2 separate regions of the Homo sapiens genome follow, and region 2 is linked to region 1. Evidence: promoter capture Hi-C in 16 types of primary human blood cells and fetal thymus (Javierre and others, 2016). All regions are on one chromosome and are shown on one strand. The core of a region is centred on a gene start or on the middle of the fragment in contact, and the rest is flanking DNA. Distances in the headings are between cores, read along the strand shown.

Region 1 (3,080 bases), core at 446-2,945:
CTAATGGGGGCCCTACAATTTAGGGCAGAGGCCATTTATTACAAAACGCTCTTGAAACCTGATCCCTCCACTCCTCCCCTAATTTTGGATGCACAGTTTAAGTAAGGAATCTCTTAGCACTTAGCGAAGGCTTCTTCGCTGTGGCAGATATCACAATTGTAACTGGGCCCTCATCAGACTGGGAGCTTCCTGTGGGTGGAAGCTGCATCCACAGAGCTTAGCAATGCTTTGTGTACTCGGTAGGTGCTCAGTAAGCCTTTGCCTGGGCTCTGGGAATATAACTCCTTTGAAGTACAACATACAAGCAGTAAAGTGCAGACACCTGCAGTGAATGTACAGATCAATGGATTCCACGTGTGTATACACAGAGGTTTACAATGGCCACCCAGAGGAGCGTTACAGAACATTCCCCTAGAGACTCCCTTGACGCAGGGAATTTAATTGCCCTCCCTTCCATCCTGTGCAGGCAGGCTGGTTGCCAGTAAAGGGATATGAGATGCCCTGATGCATCCGCAGACAGAACCCTTAGTATGGGGGGGAAGGACCTGTCATTCTAGAGTAAAAGTAAGACCAGGAAGATTAAAGAAGACAAAAATTTAAAAATGCAAATGGTGAAAAGCATAAACAACTATTTTCCTCTCTCCCCACACTCACCCAGAAGCACCGGGGCCAAAGAGAGGGCATGGGAGGTCTCAGGATCCCCTGCCGCCCCACCACTGCCCTGATGCCCGCTTGTGACGCAGAGACCGGAGTGGCTCTGAAATTACTGTCTTCAAAGCAGGCCAAACCTTGCTTGACACGTGCAAAGTTCCAATCTCTTGCTTCTCAGCTCCCCGCACGCGCGGGCCAACGTGCACTTCTGAGCCAGATCACCTAGCCACAAGGAGGGGGAGAGAGGGGGAGATAGGAGGAGAGAGGGGAAGATAGGGGGAGAGACGGGGGAGAGAGAGGGAGAGGCAGAGAGAGAGAGAGAGACAGAGAAGAGAAAGGAAGCACCTGAGACAGAGAGAAAGAAGAGAGAGAAAGGAAGCAGCTTCCCCCAACGCTGCGGCCTTGTGTTTCCTCCCGTGTCAAACGAGAGGGCCCCAAATTGACCCCAAATGTTTTTTCTTCCTTTCTCAATCCAACATTTATACCAGCACGTTATTTCCAGGATGCCCAGGACCTCTGCTATGGTTGTGCTGCTGTCCCTGCAAAGGCGCTGGGGATGGCCGAGGTGGGGGATGTCTCTGGGGGCTGAAATACGCTGCCAGGGGAAGGGGCGCCCCGATACCACCCTCAGTGGCTGCTGGTTGGGCGACCGGTGGCCCTGGCTTGAGAAAGTGAAAATGTCCAATCTATTTTGCCTGGAGCCTTGGGTCTCTTTTGGATACGGAACCGAGCAGCAGTCCTCCACTTCGCCCTCTCCCGCCGCTGCAAGGGAAAAGGTCGTTTTCCTCGAGTCCCGGAGAGGCCCTCCAGGAACCCAGAGCCCCCCGGGGACACCGCCCAGCTCCCGGCGCCCGGCCCCGCCCCTGCGCGAACTCGGCCGCACCCACTTTCCCGGGCGGCTCCCCCTCCGTGGCCTGTGGCGTCACAAGGCCCCCAGCCGCCTGTGCCCCGCGGTGCGCGCCCCGCTCCGGGACCTGCCGCCACCGCCGCCCCGCCCTCGGCGGCACCCACACCCAGGCGCGCCCGCGCGCGCGCCCGGCCCCGTCCCTGTCTGGAAGCACAGCTGAAGATGGCGAGCCCGGCGCCTCCGGAGCACGCCGAGGAGGGATGCCCGGCTCCTGCCGCCGAGGAGCAGGCGCCGCCGTCGCCGCCACCGCCCCAGGCATCCCCCGCAGAGCGGCAGCAGCAGGAGGAGGAAGCGCAGGAAGCTGGGGCGGCGGAGGGCGCGGGGTTGCAGGTGGAGGAGGCCGCGGGCCGGGCGGCGGCCGCGGTAACCTGGCTGCTCGGGGAGCCGGTGCTGTGGCTGGGCTGCCGCGCCGACGAGCTGCTGAGCTGGAAGAGGCCGCTGCGGAGCCTGCTCGGCTTCGTCGCTGCCAACCTGCTGTTCTGGTGAGAGCTTGGGCAAGGTGGGGGCGCTGAGGAGGGCAGGTGACCTTGGGGCGCCCGGGGCCCCGGGGACCCAGTGCAGGGGGAGCCCGCGGGACACTGCGGAGGAAGAATTGTCAGCCCTGCCCCACTTTCTCGGCCACCTGTCTCGAACAGGTAGACACTCACCGCAACTTTCCTCCGGACGCACGTCCCTGTGAGCAGTTGTCGTTCTCCGTGTGCGGATCCAGCCTCAGATGCGAGGTGGTCGGCCGACCCTCAGGCACCTGCACCTACAGGTGTTCCCATCGTGCTTGAAAACTTCGCCCCTGCTTTCTAAAACTCTGAGGTCTTGACCTGCTCGCCCAAGCTTGCCGGAGCAAACGTGCTTGAACGTGTCTTGGTTCTTGCAGCCCCAGCAGGCATATCTGGACCAGATTAGGTACCCGTTCAAAACGGTGCCGCATTCATCAGTCACCTGAGATGGGCCCTGAATGATTTGTTTTTTCCTTCCCCTGGAGCGTTAGGTTTACTGTGTTTACTCCCTGATGAGAAAACGGGAGGCAAACAAGCAGGTGGAGTATGCCCAGCACCCACCCCCGGGTGTGCACAGTGTGGAAAACAGGCATATTTTTAGGTGAAGTACAGGGAGAACACACGGGAATGCTCAGCCCCTGAGCAACAGGTTTGTCTCTCCAAAAAGCGCTCTTCAGAAAGGCCAGGGAAATGTCTGTCTCCTTCGTTGAAAGTGGTGTCCTGTCATCCGTTACCACGCTATTGAGGGCGGAGAAAAACCTTCTTTGTTTGCTAAGTGTCCTCATAACAAACATGACCTACACAGTGCAGAATAATCAGACTCCGGTAACAGATACCTTGTTACAGGACAGAGATTTCTGAACCTTAAAGTTGAGAAATAAATAAATTGCACAAAATAGACAGCCTGTCATTTTCTAGGTTAACTTGAGCAAGATGAATATTTTCCTCAGATCTCTGCTAGTCCTGGTGTTTTCTCTTAAAACTAGCTGTATCTTGTCGGAGGTCCCTGAAAGTGAATTAACTTTGGA
Region 2 (3,177 bases), core at 600-3,099, 2.1 Mb before region 1:
TCTCAAAAAAAAAAAGGACTGTAGAACTTCTCGACTTGAAGCAGTCAGACGTATGGGCTGACAACAATGTAATAGACAATAGGTCCCCTGATCCAAGTCCAAAGGTCAATGAATATTCTTTTGAGGGAAAATGGGGTCAGAATTCGGGTACAAAAAGCACTGTTCCAACCTTGGTCCTCCAATTTGCCACTGCCTACTCTAAAACTGTTGTGCTCCAGTGCCATTTTCAAGGAATTTATCTTGCTGGGACAACTCCAAGCCCAGAAATATGCTAATTGGTGCCTGGTCTCTGAACTCAAAATACACCCCTAACCTAAGACCCACTCGCAGATGCAAAGACAACTGTGGGCATGCTGGTAAGGAGCCACTAAAATCGAGCAGCCCTGGGCCCTTTTTTCTGTGGCTAAAAAGAGGCAGGAAATGAGTGTGAGCAAAACTGCTATGTTAGTAAGCACAATTAAATCTGATAAGCAGAGTTCCATGGGTGATTGGGCACCCTGGAAAGAAGAGGACACTAGAACCATAGGGGATGCCCTAGGGAGAGTGCTCACTAGGTGATGACTAGGGGTGCAGGCACTCCTATGTTCTCCTTTCAGATAGGAGACGTTCCCTCAAAAGCTAAGCCACTCCTAAGGTGTAGTCTGGATAATTGGGACCAATTAGACCCTCAAATGCTGAAGAAGAAGCGACTTATATTTTTCTGCAGCACCACCCGGCCACAATATCCTCTTCCTGGAGGAGAGACATGGCCACCCAAGGGAAGTATAAACTATAATACCATCCTACAGCTAGATCTCTTTTGTAAAAGAGAGGGCAAATGGAGTGAAGTGCCATATGTACAGGTTTTTTCTCACTAACGGAAAACCCACAATTATGTAAAAAATGTAATATATATATCCTACCGGGGATCCTCAAAGCCTACCCCCATACCCAGGGCTCCCCACGGCTCCCCCTCTGACTAGTAAGGACTCTCCTTTGGCCCTAACGGCCCAAAAGGAACCAGACCCAAAGATAGTCAAGTAACCAAAAGGCGCCAATGGCCCTCGATTGTGCCCCCTCCAAGCCATGGGAGGAGGAGGAGACTTTGGCCTGGTGTGAGTACATGTCCCCTTTTCCCTCTCAGACTTAAAACAGATCAAACTGAACGGAGAAAAATTCTCAGATAATCCTGATGGATGCATAGATGTCTTACAAGGATTAGGACAATCTTTTAGTTTAGCATGGAGAGATATTATGTTGTTGTTAGGTCAAACATTAACTCCCAACAAAAAACAGGCCACCTTAGTTGCAGCCCAGGAGTTTGGGGATCTCTGGTACCTAAGCCAGGTAAATGATAAAATGACATCAGAAGAAAGGGAACAACTCCCCACAGGCCAACAGGCAGTTCCCAGTGTGGATCCCCACTGGGACCTCAACTCGGAGCATGGAGACTTGAGTCTCAGGCATTTACTGACTTGTATAGTAGAGGGATTAAGAAAGACCAGAAAAAAGCCAATGAATTACTCAGTGATGGCCACCATAACAGAGGAAAAGGAAGAAAACCCTACGGCATTTTTAGAGAGGCTAAGGGAGGCATTAAGAAAGCATACCTCCTTGTCACCTGACTCTGTTGAAGGCCAACTAATTTTAAAGGGTAAGTTTATTACTCAGTCAGCTGCACACATTAGAAAAGAACTTCAAAAGTCTGCCCTGGGCCCTGAGCAAAATTTGAAAACTCGATTGAATTTGGCAACTTCAGTATTTTATAATAGGGATCAGGAGGATCAGGCTGAGTGAGACAGATGAGACAAGAAAAAGGCCGTCACCTTAGTCATGACCCTCAGGCAGATGAACTTCAGTGGCTCTGAAAGAAAGAAGGGCTGGGCAGGCAACCCGCCTAACAGGGCTTGTTATCAGTGCAGCTTACAGGGGTACTTCAAAAAGGACCGCCCAAACAAAAATAAGCTGCCCCCTCTTCTATGTCCCTTGTGCCAGAGGGATCACTGGAAGGCACACTGCCCCCGAAGGCGAAAGTCCTCTGGGCCAGAGGCCACTACCCAGATGGTCCAACAACAGGACTGAGGGTGCCCGGGACAGGTGCCAGCCCATGCCATCACCCTCACAGAGCCCCGGCTAAGTGTAACCATTGAGGGCCAGGAAACTAACTTCCTCCTGGACACTGGTGCGGCCTTCTCAGTTTTACTCTTCTGTCCTGGTCAGTATCTTCCTGGTCTGTCACCATCAAAGGGGTCCTAGGACAGCCAGTCACTAGGCATTTCTCCTACCCCCTAAGTTGTGACTGGGGAACCTTATTTTTCTCACATGCCTTTCTTATGCCTGAGAGCCCTACCCCTTTACTAGGGAGGGACATATCAGCTAAAGCAAGGGCCATTCAAACCCTTAGCACACCCAGTCCCTACAAAGGATTAGACCTCTCAAAGCTACACAAAACTCTTCACACTCACTCCTTCTTGCTAAATTTATTTAATGTCACCCTTACCGAAATTCGCAAGGCCTCCAGCCAAAATCCAGCTGACTGCTTGATGTGCCTCCCCTTATGCTTTAAACCATCCGTCCCAGTACCTGTTCCCGAACATTGGAATGCCACCGAACTGAGAACAAACACCACAGGGAAGACATTGAACATTCTTAATAAAAAGAAGTGATAAATGTTTTAAATAATGAATGTGCTATTACTGTGATCAAAACATGACTATGTACTCCATGAATATGCATAGTTATTAATATTATTAATATTATTTAACAATAACATAAATTAAAAGTACATTAATCTAAGGTTAATTTATTATTGAAAAAAGAATATTTAAAATAAATTTAGAGTAGCCTAAGTGTACTGTGCATATAAAAACTATGGGTAGTGTACAGTTAGGTTCTAGGACTTTGCATTCGCTCATCACTCACTCACTGACTCACCCAGAGCAATTTTCAATCTGGCAAACTCCATTCTTGGTAACGGCCCTATACAGGTGTATCATTTTTTATCTTTTAAATATGTACCTTATCTATGTTTAGATATATTTTGATACCCAAATATTTACCATCATGTTACAGTTGCTTTTGGTATTTAGTACAGTAACATGCTGTACAGATTTGTAGCTCGGGAGCTATAGGCTATACCATATAGCCTAAGTGTGTAGTAGGCTATACCATCTAAGTTTGTGTAAGTACACTTTATGA

Evidence for each region. The method cuts DNA at HindIII sites, captures the fragments that hold promoters and counts their contacts. A CHiCAGO score of 5 or more calls a contact.
Region 2: a fragment that was not itself captured here is called in contact with the fragment with the promoter of RETREG1 in region 1 in 1 of 17 cell types (activated CD4 T cells); the score reaches 6.2 in activated CD4 T cells.

The regions. Positions count from the first base shown.
Region 1 is chr5:16,615,612-16,618,691 of GRCh38, reverse strand. RETREG1 (reticulophagy regulator 1) reads left to right here and starts at 1,695. Exons shown (of 9, transcript NM_001034850.3): 1 at 1,695-2,040. The coding sequence starts at 1,721. It overlaps RETREG1-AS1 (RETREG1 antisense RNA 1), which reads right to left and starts at 2,766. Exons shown (of 4, transcript NR_109946.1): 1 at 2,206-2,766. RefSeq lists a silencer at 1,452-1,941. The HindIII fragment of the contact is 3,701 bases long and covers 1-2,388 here.
Region 2 is chr5:18,741,876-18,745,052 of GRCh38, reverse strand. The region is part of intron 1 of LINC02100 (long intergenic non-protein coding RNA 2100); the gene reads left to right. Among named protein-coding and RNA genes, the nearest start is that of LINC02100, 2.7 kb to the left of the region's middle. RefSeq lists an enhancer at 1-95. The HindIII fragment of the contact is 6,048 bases long and covers 1-3,177 here.